Linked DNA regions of Homo sapiens: regions 2, 3, 4, 5 and 6 are each linked to region 1. Evidence: promoter capture Hi-C in human tissues and cell types (Jung and others, 2019). All regions are on one chromosome and are shown on one strand. Each heading gives the region's core, a stretch centred on a gene start or on the middle of the fragment in contact. The rest is flanking DNA. Distances are from core to core; before and after follow the strand shown.

Evidence for each region. The method cuts DNA at HindIII sites, captures the fragments that hold promoters and counts their contacts. A contact is called where the count stands out against the background at its distance.
Region 2: a fragment that was not itself captured here is called in contact with the fragment with the promoter of FBXL22 in region 1 in 1 of the 25 tissues and cell types used here (mesendoderm cells).
Region 3: a fragment that was not itself captured here is called in contact with the fragment with the promoter of FBXL22 in region 1 in 1 of the 25 tissues and cell types used here (mesendoderm cells).
Region 4: a fragment that was not itself captured here is called in contact with the fragment with the promoter of FBXL22 in region 1 in 2 of the 25 tissues and cell types used here (dorsolateral prefrontal cortex and heart right ventricle).
Region 5: a fragment that was not itself captured here is called in contact with the fragment with the promoter of FBXL22 in region 1 in 1 of the 25 tissues and cell types used here (bladder).
Region 6: a fragment that was not itself captured here is called in contact with the fragment with the promoter of FBXL22 in region 1 in 1 of the 25 tissues and cell types used here (H1 embryonic stem cells).

The regions. Positions count from the first base shown.
Region 1 is chr15:63,595,530-63,598,830 of GRCh38, reverse strand. FBXL22 (F-box and leucine rich repeat protein 22) reads right to left here and starts at 1,444. Exons shown (of 2, transcript NM_001367807.1): 1 at 1,086-1,444. The coding sequence starts at 1,438. All of the region lies in intron 1 of USP3-AS1 (USP3 antisense RNA 1), which reads left to right. The HindIII fragment of the contact is 12,633 bases long and covers 1-3,301 here.
Region 2 is chr15:63,124,569-63,127,869 of GRCh38, reverse strand. It overlaps LACTB (lactamase beta), which reads right to left. Exons shown (of 6, transcript NM_032857.5): 3 at 821-1,011; 4 at 181-517. Among named protein-coding and RNA genes, the nearest start is that of LACTB, 4.4 kb to the right of the region's middle. The HindIII fragment of the contact is 3,214 bases long and covers 37-3,250 here.
Region 3 is chr15:63,976,604-63,979,904 of GRCh38, reverse strand. All of the region lies in intron 3 of DAPK2 (death associated protein kinase 2), which reads left to right. Among named protein-coding and RNA genes, the nearest start is that of DAPK2, 68 kb to the left of the region's middle. The HindIII fragment of the contact is 5,270 bases long and covers 1-3,301 here.
Region 4 is chr15:63,922,252-63,925,552 of GRCh38, reverse strand. DAPK2 (death associated protein kinase 2) reads left to right here. Exons shown (of 12, transcript NM_014326.5): 9 at 692-737. Among named protein-coding and RNA genes, the nearest start is that of MIR422A, 53 kb to the right of the region's middle. The HindIII fragment of the contact is 4,893 bases long and covers 1-3,301 here.
Region 5 is chr15:63,896,806-63,900,106 of GRCh38, reverse strand. No RefSeq gene overlaps it. Among named protein-coding and RNA genes, the nearest start is that of MIR422A, 27 kb to the right of the region's middle. RefSeq lists enhancers at 2,999-3,048, 3,249-3,298. The HindIII fragment of the contact is 3,616 bases long and covers 1-3,301 here.
Region 6 is chr15:63,879,659-63,882,959 of GRCh38, reverse strand. No RefSeq gene overlaps it. Among named protein-coding and RNA genes, the nearest start is that of MIR422A, 10 kb to the right of the region's middle. RefSeq lists an enhancer at 3,171-3,301. The HindIII fragment of the contact is 4,145 bases long and covers 1-3,301 here.

The sequences.
Region 1 (3,301 bases), core at 195-2,694:
TGTTAAGCCCATCAAAATAGCCTTGTCCAGTCGGGGCCCAACCCCAAGTCCATCTTCTGTTTTCTTCCTACCAGCTCAAAAGAAAGGTGGGGTCACTACGCTGTTTCCTTCCACTCCTGTCGTGCTGCCAGCAAATAGCAGCTATGAACTTGGGTGGCAGTAAACTGGCTGAGTCTAGTTTTCCATGAACAGCCAGGGCCAGTTTGTTATATGATCAAGGGGGTGTTTTTCCTCAAAGGCAGCACGGGACTGGCAGAAGCTCAGTGAGAGGCTGGTTGAATAGCTCTGTGTTCTTGCCTGGGCCGCTCTGCCCATGAGGCTGGGACCATGGAGGGAGCCTGGCCTGGTGGTTCAGTGTCTATGTCTGTGTCTGGGGTGGGGGTTAGCAGATAAACACAAGATGTATTTGGGACATACTTACACTAAAATATTATTCACTGTTTATCTGAAATTCATATTTAACTGGGCAGCCTATATATTTGCTAAAATCTGGCAACCCTAGACTGGGCAAATCATACCACCTCGTGGAGCATCAGTTTGCTAATTTGAAAAATTAGGCTAAGCCACCCTCCTTAGGAATACTGTGTAAATCAGTAATTCATCTACTCCTGGAGTCTGGTTTGGCTCAGCTGACCTGAGCACCCTGGCTTCTCCACCTCTGGCTCCCCACCCTCTCTTTCCTCCGTAGTTTCCCAGGCCTTGAGGGCTGCTTGCTAGGCCTAATGGAGGGGTGAGCTGATTGCTGCATCTGGAAGCCTTTTCCCAGAGCCTGACCTTGAAAATCCAGGCCCAGCTGGACCCACCCAGCACTTAATGACTACCAGTACGGAGGCCCCACTTCTTGGTGTTTGCATGAAGCAGCCCAGGACCTGTGAGGCTAAGAGGAGGATTAGCAATTGTTTCCCTCATGATTTTATTGTCTCCTGGGGACCCTGCTTTGGGCGGTCTGGATGTCTGCCTTGGGCCTAGTTTGAGGCGCCCCGAAGGTGGAGCCATCTTGGTCTCGTAATTTGCTCTTCCCTGCCCCCCAAGAGGGAAGCCAGAGCTAGCGGGGCCAGCACTGCTCAGGAGGCAAGGTGGCCTACCTGTCGCACACCCGGAGGAGGAAATCATTGACCAGGCTCTCGTGCCGGCTGCAGATGCTTCTCTGGAAGGCACTCTTGAGCCAGTCCTCAATGCTGCACACCTGCACGCGGCTGGAGTGCCAGCAGATGGAGAGGCTGCGGAGTGCCGGGCCCAGGAGGAAGTTGTCCTTCTGGAGTTCAGTGAGGGAACGGAAGTGCAGCAGGGACCAGAGTGCGGGGTCCTCAAACACGTCGTGGAGCTGGGAGCAGGTCCTGGCAAGGCTCTTCCTGCTGTCCTTGTCTAGGAAGGAGAAGAGGTGCAGCAGGCACTCCCGGTTGAGCTGGGTTATGTGCATGGTGAGCAGTGGCCACATGTGAGTGCAGCTGCAGCCGGGGGACGGCTGACCTGCCTCCTCTCCTCCTCCCCGACTCTGGGCCGGTGGACATATATGGTTGAGGAATGGTGTTTATTTTTGGCTAACAACTGGTGCTGAAGCTCTGCGGAGGGGTGAGGGAAGAAAAGCCAGGACCCAGACACATGTGCGGCAGTCTGTGGTTCGGCTTATGTTCAGAGGGATTGGAGGTCCTGGCAGAAAAGGAGCCTATTGAAGTTACTTTCCTTAAAAGGGATTTTTTTTTTCCCTTTAGCTGACAATGGTGTTTAGCAGTGAGCACTTTTGGCTTTTCCCAAGGCGTTTTCATTGGCAGTGGTGGCGGCCAGGCCAGCTCTGTCTGGCTTTGCAGTCTGTACTTAGGGGGAAGGAGTGTAATTGTAAATGTTAACTGTTTTGATTTTCTAGTACATCAGTGTGAATCTTTTGCTCCACCCTTACTAGGAAGAAACCTGTTGCGTGTGGAGAGCTAAGGGTGACGGTTGTGAGTTGTGAGCAGAGTCCATGGCTGCTGCCTCATTCCTGTTATTTTTGTGCCATAGAGTAATTGTCTCCAGGCTAGGCTGGTTGGCCTTCAAGCCCTGCTGCCTGCCACTAGGCAGGGGGATTTTCCTGGGCCTCCCCAACAGCTAGATTTTTACCCTGAGTTGTTTCATAAAAGAATTTTACTGAAGTAGCTGCTTTCCAAAGTTGTGTGTCTGTGTTTTATGTTTTATTGGTGCTTTGTTGTTGTTGTTGTTGTTTTTGTAGTTTTGGTCAAGCAGTACTTTCTGTGTTTTAAATTTAAATTTACTTGGCTTTACATTTTCTCACTGATAAGGCCTTGTACTATGTATAACCTGTACTTCCCAAAATGTCAGGATGGATGAGGTAGCTCTTAATGTGAAACTGCTTGAAACAATTTTAAGTTCAGTATTTTAGTCCATCTTTGCCTTTAAGTTGACCACACACCATCCATTCTATGAGTGCCCTCCGTTCCCTCTTGGAGAAGCCAGTGGGCCACCCCTGCCCTCTCTGACTCAACTCTAGGCAAGGTGCCTGGAGGTACTATCCGTGAAGCTCCCCCTTCCTGAGTACCCGAGGCTTCACGATATGGCAGACCCGTTTCCTCATGCTGCTTCACTCCCAAACCCAGGACCCAACCTTAACTCTCCTGCTTTGAATCCCAGTCGTTGTTTTTTGGTTTGCTTGGGGGATGCTGATATGGTGCAGCTGTATAGGCCACGTTCTGCCTAGGCAATAGTGAGAAGAGAATGGTTTTTCCTCTGCCAGCCCAGGGACCACCACCTCAGTGGTTACTTCTGTTTGTTCTCCCATTTGGAATAAGAGGGAATGGGAATCCTTGTGTTTTCCCATAGACACAAATGAAGCAGCCTATGCTGAACCCACTTCTGGAACTAAGGTTTGGTCAGGGCTGGTGCAGCTTTGCCTTTAAAGCAGAAGGCAGTCAAGCAAAGAAGGAAGTAGCCATTGTCAGTGGCTTTCCTGAGAAGCCAGCCTCAGCTGGTGCCCCTGTGCCTCCATTACTCCACCATGCCAAGATGAAGTACAGTAGGGGGTTCTCTTAAAAACAAACCAAGGAGGTCGAAAGGAAGCATTTCCCAAGGAAGGGGAGCAAGATACTGCTGCTATTTCAAGCTCATCAATGTAGTTCTGAATTATAGCTGACACCCTAATTTAGGCTCTGTCTAGGTGTACTTCTCCACTTAAAATGGATGCTGCAAAACCACAGGTGGTGTTATTAGAAAGCCACATTATCTCCACTTTCCCTCCCCAATCCTCCTCAAACCAATGCTTTTCAGAGGGTTTGACCCTTAGGAATAGGTGGTTCTTTCCACTTCTTGC
Region 2 (3,301 bases), core at 394-2,893, 470 kb after region 1:
AACAAGCTGCCTGGATGCTAGGCTTTGTTAGAAACTACAGACAAAAACGCAAGCACCAGACTAGTCCGTATCACAATCATCAACCTCAATGAATGCACTCCGGATGGTATCATTTTGGATTTCCTGAAAATTAACATTTCAGTAATGATGATTTTGTTAAGAGAAGGGATTAACACTCACCAGGTTTGAAGAACAAAGGATCATTTTTAAATAATCTTAGGGATTCAATTGAATTTTCAAACTTTTCTCTCAAATATAATTCGCCTTGTTCAAAATCATTCTTTTTCTTGCCAGGTTTTGAATTCCGGCATTTGGCTTCATTCTCCTGCTCTGTTTTAAATTTAGTAAAATCATTCTTTTCATTACTTTTGCCTTCTTTTTCTTGCTCAAATGCAACATTCTCTTTCATCATCTTCAAGGCTTTATAAGCTTTCTCTTCTTTCACCTTTTTTATGTCCTTTTCATAATGACGAATTCCACTTAAATGGGAAATCAGTAATCTTGTTGTGACAGAAACCTAATTGTAAAAACATGAAAATTCAATTACAATATTAACCTGAAAAATAGAAAGTTAGTTGCCTCGGAATAATGTCTCAGTAATATTTTCCACTTAGAACTGCTGCTGGGAAAATGTCATGTACAAATCCTTAGCCTCAAATTTCAGAAAAATACCTACCTGATTATCATCTGGATTAAGAAAAACTAATACATTAACAATAACTAAAAACAAGCCAAAGAATCCTATGAAACATTTTAAATATAAATTCCAGCATAAACCATTTAACATGCCATTAGTAAAATGAACTGTGAGTTTCAGTACCTTTTCACCTTCATATTCTTTTTCTGGGAATTCGGGAACATAATGTTGTACTGGAATATCAAGATCCAGTTTCCCTGCTTCCCACAATTTGGCAAGAGCAACCATGGTGAGACTTTTGCTGATGCTAGCAATTCGCATAACTGTCTCTGGTTTACATGGTACACGGTTCTCAACATCAGCATAACCTAAACCTTTGGGGGAAAAAAGCAAAAAGTCACTATTAACAGGCTTCATGGTCAAACAAGTTTTCAAACCCTGAAATAATACTATCTTTAAACATGCTGTGTTTATCTAAAAGAAAAGATACTCCACTTTTATAAGTTACTTAACACTGGACATGTAAAGGATTAAAATCTTAGTATATCGGTAAGCCTAACAATTTAACCTTATAACTAAAGTGAAATTGTACCCTGTTTGCAATAGCAATTTTCTATGACTTAGATACAAATTTTTCTTAGCTTATCTAAACAACTGAGTTATTCCACATTTTAAATAAAGTATTCTTTAAAGAAAACATCATTATTCTTCTTCAGATTATATTTATTTTTGACTTTTGAGTAAATTTCCACTGAATTCCTTGAAATAGCCACTCAATAAAAGTAAGTGTGGGCCGGGCATGGTGACTCATGCCTATAATCTGAGCACTTTGGGTGGCCAAGGTGAGCAGATCACCTGAGATTGGGAGTTCAAGACTAGCCTGGCCAACATGGTAAAACCCCGTCTCTACTAAAAATACAAAAATTGGCCAGTCATGGTGGCGTGTGCCTGTAATCCCAGCTACTCGGGAGGCTGAGGCAGGAGAATCGCTTGAACCTTGGAGGCAGAGGTTGCGGTGAGCTGAGAAAACGCCACTGCACTCCAGCCAGGGCGACAAAGTGAAACTGTCTCAAAAATGTGTGAAAAGATGTCCTGCAAACCAAATCTAGCTAACCATCAATTTAATTCGACTGCAAACCAGGAGGAAAATTATGTACTAACTTAAAGCTTTTTCTAGAAAAAATTTTAAATTTGGTTTCCATGTTCTCACAGGCTGAAAGTGCGTAAATCTAACTAAGAAAGAGAAAGTGCCTGCAATCCCAGCACTTTGGGAGGCGGAGACGGGTGGATTACTTGAGCTCAGGATTTCGAGACTAGCCTGAGCAACATGGCAGAAACCGCATCTCTACAAAATATACAAAAAAAAAAAAGAAAGAAAGAAAGAAAAAAGCCTGGCGTGGTGGAGTGCACCTGTAGTCTCAGCTAGTCAGGAGGCTGAGGTGGGAGAATCATCTGAGCCCAGGAGTTTGAGATTGCAGTGAGCCAAGATCACACCACTGCACGCCAGCCTGGGAGACACAGTAAGAGACCCTGTCCAAAAAATAAATAAATAAATAAATAAAAAGAGAACAGAGATCTGAAAAGAAAAGGAATACAATGACTATAAATTTGTATAATCTTAAATATCTAAAAAATATTTGCATAAAGTCCATAAAGCTGACATTTATATAATTTTTGATTACAAGACTTATCATAAATTAGGTATAATGATTAGATTATACTTATACTTGAAGGAAGAATCATTTTCCTTTTTTAAAAAATTTTAAGCTGGGCACGGTGGCTCACGCCTGTAATCCCAGCACTTTGGGATGCCGAGGCAGGCGCATCACCTGAGGTCGGGAGTTCGAGACCAGCCTGACCAACATGGAGAATCCCCGTCTCTACTTAAAATACAAAAATTAGCCAGGCGTGGTGGTGCATGCCTGTAATCCCAGCTAATCGGGAGGACGAGGCAGGAGAATCACTTGAACCTGGGAGGTGGAGGTTGTGGTGAGCTGAGATCGCACTATTGCACTCCAGCCTGGGCAACAAGAGTGAAACTCCAAAAAAAAAATAAATAAATAAAATTTTTTTTATAGAGACACAGGTGTCGCTATGGTGCCTAAGCTGGTCTCAAACTTCTGGTCTTCAGCCATCCTTCCTCCCTGGACTCCCTAAGCGCTGGGATTACAGGCGTGCGCCACCTCAACTGGCCCATTTTTCTTCAAATTCAAACCCCTACTGCGCCCATCAACTTACTGCCTTTAAATGGCATATGAAACATTTTTTTTTCTTTTTTTTTGAGACAGAGTCTCGCTGTTGCCCAGGCTGGAGTGCAGTGAACGATCTTGGCTCACTGCAAACCTCCGCCTCCCGAGTTCAAGCGATTCTCGTATCCTGGCCTCCCGAGTAGCTGAGATTACAGGCACGCACTAGCATGGCTGGCTAATTTTTTGTGTTTTTAGTAGAGATGGGGTTTTGCCACGTTGTCCAGGCTGGTCTCGAACTCCTAAGCTCAGGCAACCCACCTGCCTCTGCCTCTCAAAGTGCTAGGATTACAGGCGTGAGCCACTGCACCTGGCCTGAAACATCATTTTCTAAAAGTGGGACTCCTAGAAACCTAGGATGACCAATTAGATCAATTTCTGTGCAACAGAGAAGTTATGAAAAATAATGCCTTGATAA
Region 3 (3,301 bases), core at 442-2,941, 380 kb before region 1:
CTTGCTCTGTCACCCAGGCTGGAGTGCAGTGGCGTGATCTCGGCTCACTGCAATCTCTACCTCCCGGGTTCCAGTGATCCTGTGCCTTAGCCTCCTGTGTAGCTGGGACTACCAGTATGTGCCCCCATGCCTGGCTAATTTTTTTTGTATTTTTAGTAGAGGTGGGGTTTCACTCTGTTGGCCAGACTGGTCTTGAACTCCTGGCCTCCAGTGATCCACTCGCCTTGGCCTCCCAAAGTGCTAGGATTACAGGCATGAGCCACCGCACCCAGCCTCATGGGCTTTTGTTGCTTAGACTTAGTGACTCCTGTTAGGCTGGTCAGAAGTCTTGGCCTCGTGGTCCTCACTGGGCCCTAATAGGTTAGTGGGTTTGCCCAGTAAGTGTTAGTATCCACCTACTCAGTTGAAAGCTGCCCAGTTGCAGGTTTTATGAATGAGTCTACGCTGATCCCACTGCCCCTCTCAGCAACTGTTGTCTGGTGCAGGGCTTCCGCCTGCTTTCTGCTCAAGTGGCCAGCACTAGGAGGACATGCCTGGCTCTGATCTAAATCCCTTTCAGTTGTTATTATCCCATCTGTGACCTCCCTAGAAGCAGCTGCCTCTGGTCGTGACTCTTGAAGGCAGGACTGGGAAGGATTTAATTGTCCATATAAGTTGACTTCTGTATGGGGTATAGAATATATTCAAAATCTCAGCAGCTTAACTCATGTCACATGTGGAACTAGCCCTGAAAAATGTAAGTCTCCCTGTGAAGGTTGGGCTGGCCTCCCATCACAGGCCCCTGACTGCTCTGGGGCCTCCTTGATTCCAAGCCTGTGGAAAGCGATACCGTGGTGGTTGCATACCAGAGAACTGCCTGGCAGAGTGCTCCAGGGTGGCAGTGATGCTTCCCAGGTTCCTGAATTGAGCCCAGCTTCCTGGGCCCAGCAGCTCTGGCAGCATTTTTCCCCTATCGCTGCCTGTGCAGGTCATTCATGTATACATTTCCAGAAGAGTCTGAAAAGCATTTCCAGCAGGCATGCCACCCTGCAGGGAGGAAGGAGGCAAAGGTCAGATTTGCAGGAAGGGGATGATCCTGGGAACACTAGGAGAAGAGATGAGGCCAGGTCGTGAGGCTTTGTTTTTCATCTTAAAGCTAAAGAGATGTGGGATGTAAGAGGAAAGAAACTTGGAAGGAGATGGGGGGTGGCTCCAGGGCAGAGGTCTTAGAGGGTAAAGAAATGACACTCAGGCTCCTTGGTTTGGCTTTGAAAAGAGGTGACTGAGCATTAATGTGAATGTCCCAGCCTGGGTATCCAGGGCCTAGACAGTGGCAGGTCATCAGCCTCCCACCTTTCTGAGTTTCTGGGGGAGATTCTAGGGGGCACAGTGGCTGTTCCCTTCTTCATCCCAAGGAGACCATGTCTCACCAGGTCTCCTGCCCATATCTCACCTTCAAACAGATGACTGATTACTGCACCCCAAAGTCCTCCCTCAACCCCAGACTTCATGTCAGTGGCTTTTGGGAATGCTAAGCTAAGAAGCTTTTACACTGATGCAGCATTTTATTTAAAGTAGGAATTGCAGGGTTATTATTTATTTAGATATTTGCCCGAGGTCACAGGCCCACACAACCTGGCAGGGGCTGGCAGACTAAGGGTGGAGCTGGGTTCTGTGTGTTTCAGAGGGGGCACTGCAGATGTGAAAATTTGCAGAGAGCTCTGGACAGATCTTTCACAAATACCAAGGCTTCACTGTCTATATGATACAGAATATTCTACATCATGTTGTTATTTTTAATGTTTTATTTCTTTCTTTCTTCTTTTATTCACCAAACTTCTGATTGAATGTCTTTCTTGCACTAGGTGCTGTGGAAGCAAAAATAATATAGCTGGGGAGAGAGGAAGATAGATAGTGAAGCCCACTGTGAGGAGAGCGTGGATGCAGCAGAGCAGGGATATCAGAGGACTGCCCAGTGCCTGGGGCTGCTTTGAGCCTTTCCATTTTGCATCAGCACCTCAGGCTTTGTAATGTGGAAGGGTTGTGGTGAGAGGGACACATGGTGAACTGGGGCTGAGAAAATCTGGGTCTAAATCCTGGTCCTGCCACTTACTAGCTGTGTGATCTTGGGCAAGTCACTTGCTCTCCTGAGACCTCAGTTTTCTCATCTGAGAATGAGGATGCCCTCCGGGTGGATATCAAGCTCAAGTGAGGAAATGTTTGGGAAAGCACATTGCACCGGTGGCAAACTTCAAATAAACTCTAAATCAAGCCCCCTTCCACCACTGCCACCCCTGATGATGACACCATGTACGGTGTTTATGTCAAGGACTTTATCAAGAATCTCATAGAGATTCCTCTCACTCCCACCCTCACATCCAAAGCTGGTAATGAAAGCATTATTTTTTTCACTCCTGTTTCACAAGAAGAAAAGTTGAGCCCTAGAACTCTCACATGTCCCACCCCAAGGTGAAGGTTGTATCTTTGCTGCTGAAGGATTGGAGCCATCATCTTGGCCCTTTGACCCCAGTCTGCAGAGCAGACCCAGGGTTACTCCAGCAGCTGGGAGGGTGCTCCAGCTTCCAGCACCTGCCCAAGGTGGGGGCAAGGGTCAGAGTGGGGCAAAGGACGGCCTCACCCATGAGACACTGAGAAAATAGTGCACCAGCCTGGTCCCCAACACCAAGGCAGCCACCTTAGGCCACACCCTACTCAACCCTGAGCAGAGGGGCGCTGCAGCTATGGCAGATGGTACATATGCTCAAATGTGCCATCTTATCTCAGTCTCTCTTCACCCTTTCACCTTCCCCCTTCCCCTTCTCTTTTTTTGCCTCTTTTTTGATGCCATTGATATGTTGGAAAACTAGGCCACTTGTCCTGTTTCACAGTCTGGATTAGACTTGTTCCTTCCTCATGGTGTTCTTTAACTCATTCCTCTGTTCCCTGTATTTCCTGTAACTAGTAGTTAGATCTAGAGGAGATACCCTGCCTATTGGCGCTGTCCAATAGAAATGTAATGTGAACCACATACATAATTTTAAATTTCCTAGTTGCCACACTGACTAAACAAAAAGAAATAGGTGAATTGATTTTAATAATATTTTTATTTAAAATTATTAATGAGATATTTTACATTCTATTTTTCAAACTAAGTCTTCAAAATCCAGTGTGAATTTTATACTTACAGCACATCTCAACCTGTTTTTTTGTTTGTTTGTTTGTTTTTGAGACCGATTCTCACTCTGTTGCCCAGGGTGCAATGGCACAATCACGGCTCACTACAGCCTCGACCTCAGGTGATCCTCTCAACCTCCTAAGTAGC
Region 4 (3,301 bases), core at 321-2,820, 330 kb before region 1:
GAGCTGGTAGGCTCAGAGAGGTCAGTACAGTGGGATGGTGGAAGACATGCTAACCCTATCCCTTCTCCAGGGGCCAGGGTGAGTCCCGTGGCTGTGGGGTCAAAGAAGGAAATAGGCAGGGAATTGCAGGGCGCTGGGTACCCAGAGCATGCTCTGGATGGGGCAGGAAGAAAGGTCCACAGACTAGAACACCATGTCCTCTCCATCCCACAGACTTCAGAGAGGGCCAGAGTGGGGTTGTCTGGAGTGCAAGGGCCCTGATTTTCCTGTCTAAGAACAGTGCTAGGGAGAGTTGCTTACCTGGGTACAGAGCAGCGAAAGGCAGAGAACGGATCCAGGAGGCAAACAGAAAAACAGACCAGGGATTTAGCAATGGAGAGTTGGCTTTTGGAAGATTCTGGAAGCTCATTGGAGCATTTATGACTCTTCTTAGGCCTTTCAGCTTTGGGACTAATAGTATGGGTGTAGGTAACAAGGCCACTCTATTGAGGGGTCTGTCTGGACTGCTTCCTTCCCCTGGAGTGCAGGATTTGCAGCCAGCTCCCATCCATCTCTGCATCCTCCATTCCACTGGTTTGACGGCAGTGGCCAAATAATGCCAAAATATAGGTCTAAAAAGAGTGAGAACGGAGATGGTTGCTCCCAACTTCTGTCCTCATGGATCATCACTGTTTCCCAATCCTCATTGCAGGAAACGGCTCACAATCCAAGAGGCTCTCAGACACCCCTGGATCACGGTAAGGGCACAGCCATGAGTTCCAATGGGCAAAGGGTCCCTGCTCTGTCGCCAGGGTTGGCCTGGGCAGCCAGATGCAGAGGGCCCATGGAGAGGCCTTTGCTTTAAACACTGACCCTGGGCACAGATGAAAGCTAGCCAGGGGCCCCAGAGGGCCTGGGCTTATTCGAATAGGTTTATTTGCTTGCTATTTTAAGTTTGTGTGTCTCAAATTCAGGTAACTTATGAAATGAAACCCTCACAAACCACAGTTGAAACCCTTTTTCTTTGGGGCCAACTTACACAGTGTTCTTTGTTGAAGGGTATGTCACTGCCACTTCTCCAAGTGGAAATCAGGACTCCCCAGGTGTAGAAAGATAGATGACAATTGAAAACCCCCACTTTGTGACCAGGCCTCCTTCCTTCTGATTTTTGGGGCTCTAAGTCAAGGATGACACTTAAATCAGCCACCCACCTCCTCAGGCCCTGAGGAATGGGGCCTGAGACAGAGGCCTGGTGGGGAAGAGAGACAGCCACTGTTAGGGCAATTCTGTTCCCTCTGGGGAGAGTCAGGGCAAAAAAATGAATCCCTGCCTAACTCGCCTTGCAGTCGGGCTTCCTGCTGGCTTTCCAGTCAGCTGCTGGCTTTCCAGAGGCTCTTGTGGTCTGGTGTGGTGAAGAGCACTTTGAGAGGGTGAGACTCAGCAGGATTCAGGCCCTAATTCTGCTGACTGACCAGCTATGCACACCCAGGGACGTCACCAGACTTCCCATTCACCTTAACTGTTATGTGAGAAGGCCAGCAAGGATGAAATGACCATAAGAAAGGTGGAGATAAGAAAAGGTGAGGCAGGCCAGGTGCAGTGGCTCATGCCTGTAATCCCAGCACTTTGGGAGGCCGAGGCAGCAGAAGGATGACTTGAGCCCAGGAGTTCAAGACCAACTTGAGCAACATGCCAAGACCCCATCTCTCTAAAAAATAATAATCAATCAATCAATACAAAGAGAAGGTGAGGCCTGTGGAAGACAGAACAGGGAGGGCTGGAGTCGTCTGGGAAGAGGTCAGCTTTATCTGCTCAGCTTCATCAGCTCATTGAAGGATGGGGAAGGCCCAAGGAGCCCTGAAGGAGAGATGCTCCTCAGCCCTGCTGCGTGAGCCCTGGCCTTGCGTGCTCCAGCCCTGCGCAGATGCCTGCGGAGTCCTGGCTGCAGCCTGCTTGTCTGCGTGAGCACCCCTTAAATGCTATGTGTGTGGAGCTCTCTCTAATGGCTGTGGACCCTTCTGCCCTGAATGAGCATGCAGACAGCACCCCCACACTCCTTGACCTCACTTATGGCCTAAGGAGGTGCTCATCCCACCCTGGTTCTCCCCATGGCCTGACGCATGCAGTGAATGCCAGAGGCCGCTTGTGTGCCTTCTGCCTACCCTTTGGACTGCCCTCTGGGGTGGGCGGCAAATTAACACTCTGATTCTTCTGTCTGAACACCCACCAGTCAAAAGGAGAAGGCAGAGCCCCTGAACAGCGGAAGACAGAGCCCACCCAGCTGAAGACCAAGCACCTGAGAGAGTACACTCTCAAATGCCACTCAAGCATGCCTCCCAACAACTCCTATGTCAACTTCGAGCGTTTTGCCTGTGTGGTGGAAGACGTGGCTCGGGTCGACCTGGGATGCCGTGCCCTGGTGGAGGCCCACGATACCATCCAGGACGATGTGGAGGCCCTGGTCTCCATCTTCAATGAGAAGGAAGCTTGGTACCGAGAGGAGAATGAGAGCGCCCGGCATGACCTGTCCCAGCTCAGGTATGAGTTCCGCAAGGTGGAGTCATTGAAGAAGCTGCTGCGAGAAGACATCCAGGCCACGGGATGTAGCCTCGGAAGCATGGCCAGGAAACTGGACCATCTGCAAGCCCAGTTTGAGATTCTGAGGCAGGAGCTCTCCGCAGACCTGCAGTGGATTCAGGAGCTGGTGGGCAGCTTCCAGCTGGAGAGTGGGAGCTCTGAGGGCCTGGGCTCCACATTCTACCAGGACACCAGTGAATCCCTGTCAGAGCTGCTCAGCAGATCATGCACTGAGGAATTTCTGGCAGGCTGGAAGCTCTAATCGCCAGAATCCAGTCAGTGATGCATCCCAAGAGGTTTGCAGAAGCATGTTCTCATCCACCCTGCTGCGGCCTCCAGCTAGAATTATCCTGCAGGGGTGTGTGTCTGTAGTATAGCCTTCCAGCCCCTCCACAGAATCCAGAATTGCTGAGGTGCCAGTTAATTCTTCATTCTGCACCTCCCCTCACCAATCTGGTTTTCTGGGAGGGCTCTGGCAGGGCAGCCAAGCTGTTAAAACAATTAGAGAGTGAGTACCCCTCAGGGTCCCCTTCTGCAGAGGGAGGATGGCTGGCCCTGGGGAAATGCTTGAGAATTGATTTGTGATGAAGGATTTGTTCATATCTCACTTTCTGCCTACATACCTTATGGACTGTAGATCTTGGGTAATATTTGAGTTAATTAGGAATAACTAAGTCAGCATGGTGCTTTCCTGCTACAGAAGCAGGGATTTACAATGCATAGAGAAAATAATATTGCCTTTCGT
Region 5 (3,301 bases), core at 267-2,766, 300 kb before region 1:
TATCTGCCTTTTTCACTCGTTTTTATAGATGAAATACTATTTTATGATGCATCCCAACAAGTATTTGTTAATTTCAAGACAGTAGTGGATAAAAGTGAGGTGCATGGGGGGTTAAGGTAAGAAAGAAGCTGGGAAGGCCGGGCACAGTGGCTCACGCCTGTAATCCCAGCATTTTGGGAGGCTGAGGTGAACAGATCACCTGGGGTCAGAAGTTCGAGACCAGCCTGGCCAACATGGTGAAATCCTGTCTCTACTAAAAATACAAAAATTATCCAGGCATGGTGGCGGGCGCCTGTCATTCCAGCTACTCAGGAGGCTGAAGCAGAAGAATCACTTGAACTTGGGAGGTAGAGGTTGCAGGGAGCTGAGATTGCACCACTGCACTCCAGCCTGGGCAAGAAAAGCGAAACTCTGTCTCGAAAAGAAGAAAAAAAAAAGAAGAAAAAGCTGGGAAGAATTATGTTGCCATTGAAACTTAGAAATATACTTCAAATAGCCAAAGAGTTTCATTGTTTTGGCTGCTTCACTTATTTACACACTTTGCCCCTGTGAGCAGGCACTGAGTGTTTGTCTCTGGGCTGGCTGGCAAGACAGAGGGTGGTGGAGGTGCTTGGAAGATCTGTCCGGAAGGGCCGGGCAGCCTGACGGAAGGTCGTGCAAGCTTCCCGTCTGTGGGTGCAAGAGGAAGCTCTGGATGGGAGCTCTTTGAAGGGAAGGACTGTGTCAGTTCATTTATGGGGCTCCACAGTGTGCTGGTGCCTGGCAGATGGTATGAAGATCTGAGGAGGAAAGGTGGGGTGGGAGGGAATGAAGGAGGGAATGAAGGAAGGAGGGAAGGAGATAAGAAGTGTGGCAGCCCCGGAAGTGCCTTCAAGAGAGAACCCGCAGCAAAGAGTGCTATTCACTGCTGGCCCCCAGCTGCCACCCCTTCAGGGTGTTGTATTAGTTTGCTAAGTGCCAGCTGACTTTTCAAATACTGTTCTAGCCTGTAGGTTTAAGTCCAAAGAGACATGAAGGCACCTGGAGCATGAGCTGGCAAACTCAGCCCAGTTGGCCTTGGAAGTTGTCCTCAGACCCACGTCCTTACTCAAACTCCAAGAGGAGGCGATGTTTGAGGAGGCAGGGCTGGGAGGGGCAGGGGTATATTCTACCCCTTCTCCTTAAAAGGGGAATAAAAATCCCAGCCCAGGTATTCTCAGAGCATTCTCAGAGTAGCCACAAGGTCTTCACTCTCCGTAGGCTGCTTTTGGCCAGTGATTGAGCATGGTGGGATGGGAGACACGCGGCGGGTACTCGAACCAGGCCATTCCTGCCCAGCATGGGACCCTTCTAATATTTGCCCCTGGACTGCTCATCACCTGGCTGAGCCCTTCTCTGGGTTGCTCTGCCATCAGAGGCACTTCCTAGCCAGCCCTCCTTCCTTCCCACCCTCCTTCCTTAGGTGTCACACCTACATCATGGCCTGAAAGCTCTCCCTTGCCTACTCCTGCTTCCTTTCCCCTTCATCCTTCATAGGCGTTCCTCATCCCACACCCCAGGTCTCCAGCACTTCTCATCCCATCTTGGCATCTGCTTCCTGAAGAATCTGAACCCACATAGGAGAGAGGGCAAAAGGAGGAAAGTTTGAATTTGCTCCTTCTTTTTGTCTCCACTGATTCCTTTGGCAGGCATGGACTGACACAGCCACTGCACTCACCTTAAAGCTGTCAGCTGGGGACAGTGGTGCACCTGTAGTCCCAGCCACTTGGGAGGCTGAGGCGAGAGGACTGCTTGGGTCCAGGAGTTGGAGGCTACATTGCAAACTATGATTGTATCTGTGAATAGTCACTGCAGTGAGACCTGTCTCTTAAAGAAAGACAAAAAGGAAAAGAAAGCTGTGAACAGAGCAGTTGGTACTCAATTCGTCTTTAAAAAAAAAAATCAATGGTGGGCCAGGCGCGGTGGCTCACACCTGTAATCCCATCACTTTGGGAGGCTGAGGCAGGTGGATCACCTGAGGTCGGGAGTTCGAGACCAGCCTGGCCAATATGGTGAAACCCTGTTTCTAATAAAAATACAAAAATTAGCTGGGCATGCTGGTGGGCACTGTAATCCCAGCTACTTGGGAAGCTGAGGCAGGTGACTCGCTTGAACCCGGGAGGCAGAGGTTGCAGTGAGCCAACATGGCACCATTGCACTCCAGCCTGGGAAACAATAGTGAAACTCCATCTCAAAAAAAAAAAGAGACCAAGAAGCATGACATGAGGGGCGCATGGGAGAAGCTGCGGTTTCTAACTCTGGGAATCTGGAGGACTATATGAACAAGGTGGACTTTAATTTGGCCTTAAAGGATGGGTGCTAAGAGAAGGGACAGGAAGTTATGGGTTAGTATTCTGATTGCTTGTCCTTACGCCTTCTCGTGGCTGAACTTTGGAAAGCTACCAATTAAATGAAAGAATGAGACTTCTGCGGGTTAACTGCACGGTGGTGAATTAGTAGTTCTACCATTTTCCCCTTCTCTGTCCATTGTGACCCTGGTTCTTGGTCAGAGACCAGAGGGCCCTGTCGGAGAGCCAGTGGCCATCTGTTGGGGTTGGCAGAGGCATTCAAGGTCAGGCATACGGGACAGATCTGATTCTTCCTGAGTCCTCTGGAGGAGTCTGTGTGTGTGTGTGTGTGTGTGTGTGTGTGTGTGTGTGTGTGTGTGTCTGGCTGTATTCGGGTAACTGTGTGTTTCTGGGCATACCTAGGCACCCGTTGTGGACATGTCTCTGTGGGGTGTGTGGACGTGTGTGGATGTGTCTGGGTGTTTGTGTGTGTGGATGTCTTTGTGTGTGTATCTGACTGTCCGGGGGCCTGTGTGTGCATGTGTGTGTTGGGTGTCTGTGCATGTCCGCGTGTCTGCGTTTGGGGTACGTTTGGGTATCAGTGTGTGCACATCTGTCTCTGTAGTGGATGTGTCTGTGTGTGTGTGTGTGCATCTGAGTGTGTGTCTGGGTGAATGTGTGTTGTCCAAAAGGACTCATGGAGAAAGCGCCTCCTGGGCCCAGGCTTTGCAGAATCTATTCTGCTGTCAGACCTCTGAGGCAGGTCAGAGTGACATTCTGGGCGATGTGGTTGAGGACAGCCGCATCTGCTGAGTCATAAGGATGTGGGCCCTGTGTGTTCACAGTTGGACATATCGCCTTTCACACCCACGGAGGGGAAATTTCAGCCAGGCTGGCTGACCCTGCATTCTTTCAGAAGGTCATGACCTCAAGTAGCCCAGGGAAGGAGAGGAAACAGGAATGCTCGTAAGACCTAGAGGTTGGCAGAAGGTGAA
Region 6 (3,301 bases), core at 1-2,500, 280 kb before region 1:
ACCAGTTGGGATGTCTCTGCCTCCTCTGGGTAAAGGATGTTTCTTGAGCTATAGGGCAGGGCCCAGAGTATAGTCCTAGCTGTCCATCCATGGGGCACAGCCAGGTGAAGAACCCTCTCCCCACACTGCCTGGGGTCACTGACCTCAAGTTCAAACCCTGCTTGGTGAAGATGATTCTGCTGATGATGCCAACGTTCAGGTCAGCCTCAGCTGTTCAGAGCATGTCTACCCACAGGCCATGCTGTAGCCAATGTGGTCAAAGCCAGCCCCAGATAACCTTCTGGGAACCCTGCTCTAGGCTCCAGCTTTGGTATTAGCCAGGGTGCTCAGAGCTTGGCCCAAGGCTCTTGGTGCAGTGGCTACTCTCTAGGCCTTGCTGTGGAGCAGCTATGGCAGGGGCAGCCTCCTCAGCCTGCCAGGCCTGAGGGAGGGAGGAAGGAAGGGAGGAAGGAAGAAAGGAAGGAAGGGAGGGACAAAAAAAAAAAACCCAAGCAAATATTGGGGCTCAGAACACAATATCCCAAAATATGGCACTCTAGCACTCTGAGTTATTTGGACTGGAAGGGATGGGAAGGGCCTCAAAAGCAAGTCTTGCTGATCCTCTCCTGCCTTCCTTTTTCTTTCCCTCCTTTCTCCTTACCCAGTATTGCCCCTGAAAGAGGTCATAGAAACTAGAACTCCTCTCCCCAGTGCAAGCCACGAAACCTAGAAATGTCACTCTCTAACCTCTTCCCATCTCCCTGGAAGACCCTCATACGACAGGGGTCCTGCCCCTTACTCAGGAAGGAAAGAACGCTACACAGAGAGGCCGTAGAGAAGCTGAACAAGAGGCCTTGCTGTGTTCTGCCTTCAGTCTATCACCATTAGAGCACACCCTCTTTCCAATCACATTTCTACATGGCTGTCTGTTCTTTATTGGACCTAAGCTTAAAAATACACAGTTTTCCCTTTGTCTCTGGATCTTCATTTCTGAAGCCTCTCGCATCACGTAAAACTTAGATTAAATAAATGTGTTATGCTTTTCTCTCGTTAATCTGTTTTTTGTCATGGGGGTATTGGCCATGGACCTTGGAATGGGTGAGGAAAAGGTACTACACCTCTTTGCCCTACAAAAGCAGGCTGGCAAGTAGGATGGCCCAGCACCTATTGCATGCCAAGTGTCTTCACTCAGGCAGTTCCATCCGTGTCTAAACAACCTCGCACTTTTCACTTCCCCACTTTGGGGATGAGGAAGCTGAGACTCAAAGGGGCAGATTATTCGTCTTAGATCACTCAGCTGGCAAATGGAAGAAATAGTGTTTGAAACCACAATCTGTTGCAGCCTCCCAGATGGGTACCTGCCCACCAGAAGGTCTTATGCCTAGTGTTCCATTATTGGAATGCTAAGCAGGTGGGAGTTATTTATATCCTGCGGCTCAAGGTCATCACCAAGGCCTGATTTTTCACACACGTCTGCAATTCAAATTGTAACCTCTGGGCCGGGCACAGTGGCTCCTGCCTGCAATCCCAGCACTTTAGAAGGCTGAGGCAGGTGGATCATTTGAGGTCAGGAGTTTGAGACCAGCCTGGTCAACATGGTGAAACCCTGTCCCTACTAAAAATACAGAAATTAGCTGGGCATGGCAGCCTGTAATCCCAGCTACTTGGGAGGCTGAGGTGGGAGAATCACTTGAGCCTGGCAGGCGGAGGTTGCAGTGAGCTGAGACCACGCCACTGCCCTCCTGTGTGGGCATCAGAGTGAGACCCTGCCTAAAAAAAAAAAAAAAAGTAACCTCTTAAGCTCTCTCCTTAGCTTCTGGGAAAAATGAGTAGGGGAACTCATTCACACTAGAATTCTAATATAGGTTAATAATATCCTCTTTCCCAGGGGGCTCCAAGATGTGGACCCAAGTCTCACCTTTCTCTATCTCCCTCACAGCCAGTCATGACCATGCGATGGCCTCGGACCGTAGAAAGTAGTTTAACTGAACTGTTTCTCTTGGGAATTTCCCCTAAAGCTGAGGCATTTCCTTCTAAGTCTCACTGGAAAGTTCCCAAGAGCCCACGAGGTCAAGGCTACAGTGAGTGATATTTGCACCACAGTGCTCCAGCTTGGGTGACAGAACAAGACTCTGTCTCAATAAATAGATTAATAAATAAATAAATAAATAAAGTACTGAAATCTGTATTGGCAGGTGCATCAAGACGTAGAAACTCTCCTTGCTCATTTTGGTTCTGTGAACTTCCAAGTACCTTTGAGAACCCCCAAGGAATCCAACTCGATTTCTTTCCTTTCAACTTAACCCATTTTCTAAATACCGTGCATCTCAGCTCTGTGCTAAGGTGCTTGGATTGTGCTGAAGAAGTCATAATCTCCATCCTTAAATGGTTGTACAAACTAAGGAAATAAAAGCCTCTCAGTGGATGGTATTTAGAGATGAAAGAATTATATACAGGAAGGAAAAATGTAGAGTGAGGCTTCCCAACTGGGCAAGGGACCCTCACAGGCTGTTACTTGGGTCCCCCAGTGTCCTCTCAAGTTTTGCCTAGGATTGGGGTCCCCAGGTGTGCTGTTGGGGGCCCAGGCCCCACAAGGGTAGCTCTCTGAAGAGGTCCATTTGTCCCTACTGACTCTGAGGGCACAGCTGTTGAGATCTGGGTCCCTGGGATGAGCATCTTGGGAGCTGCCTCTAGGCTAGCCTTCTCTTGGTGTACTCCCTCAGCATTCCTGGAGCCTGGTTGGGGGCTGGCCCTAGGGAGCCCGCCCCTGCCTGTGCAGAGTTGCTCCTGGCCCAGGGGAGAGTGAATGCATTGTGCTCAGGCCTCAGTAAGAGGCAGCCTTGGCAACCAGAATCCTGAGGGAGGGTGTGCCTGGCAGGTCCCCTATGGACTCAACCAGCCACTGTCCTCATCACCAAGCATTAGTTTGGACACTAGCTGCACCCTGCTACCAACAAGAGATCAAAGAATCATGTCTGGGACATAGAGTCCAGAGACCTGGGCTCTAGTCCTGGCCCTGTCACTAATTCTCGGGGCAAACTTGGTCATATTTGTTACCTCATATGTGCCAGACACTGTGCAAGATACTTCACATACTTAAGGCCAGGCACGGTGGCTCACGCCTGTAACCCCAGGACTTTGGGAGGCCGAAGCAAGTGGATCACCTGAGGTCAGGAGTTCAAGATCAGCCTGACCAACATAGTGAAACCCCGTCTCTATTAAAAATACAAAAATTAGCTGGGCCTGGTGGCACGTGCCTGTAAACCCAGCTACTCGGGAGGCTGAGGCAGGAGAATTGCTTAAACTCAGGAGGTGGAGGTTG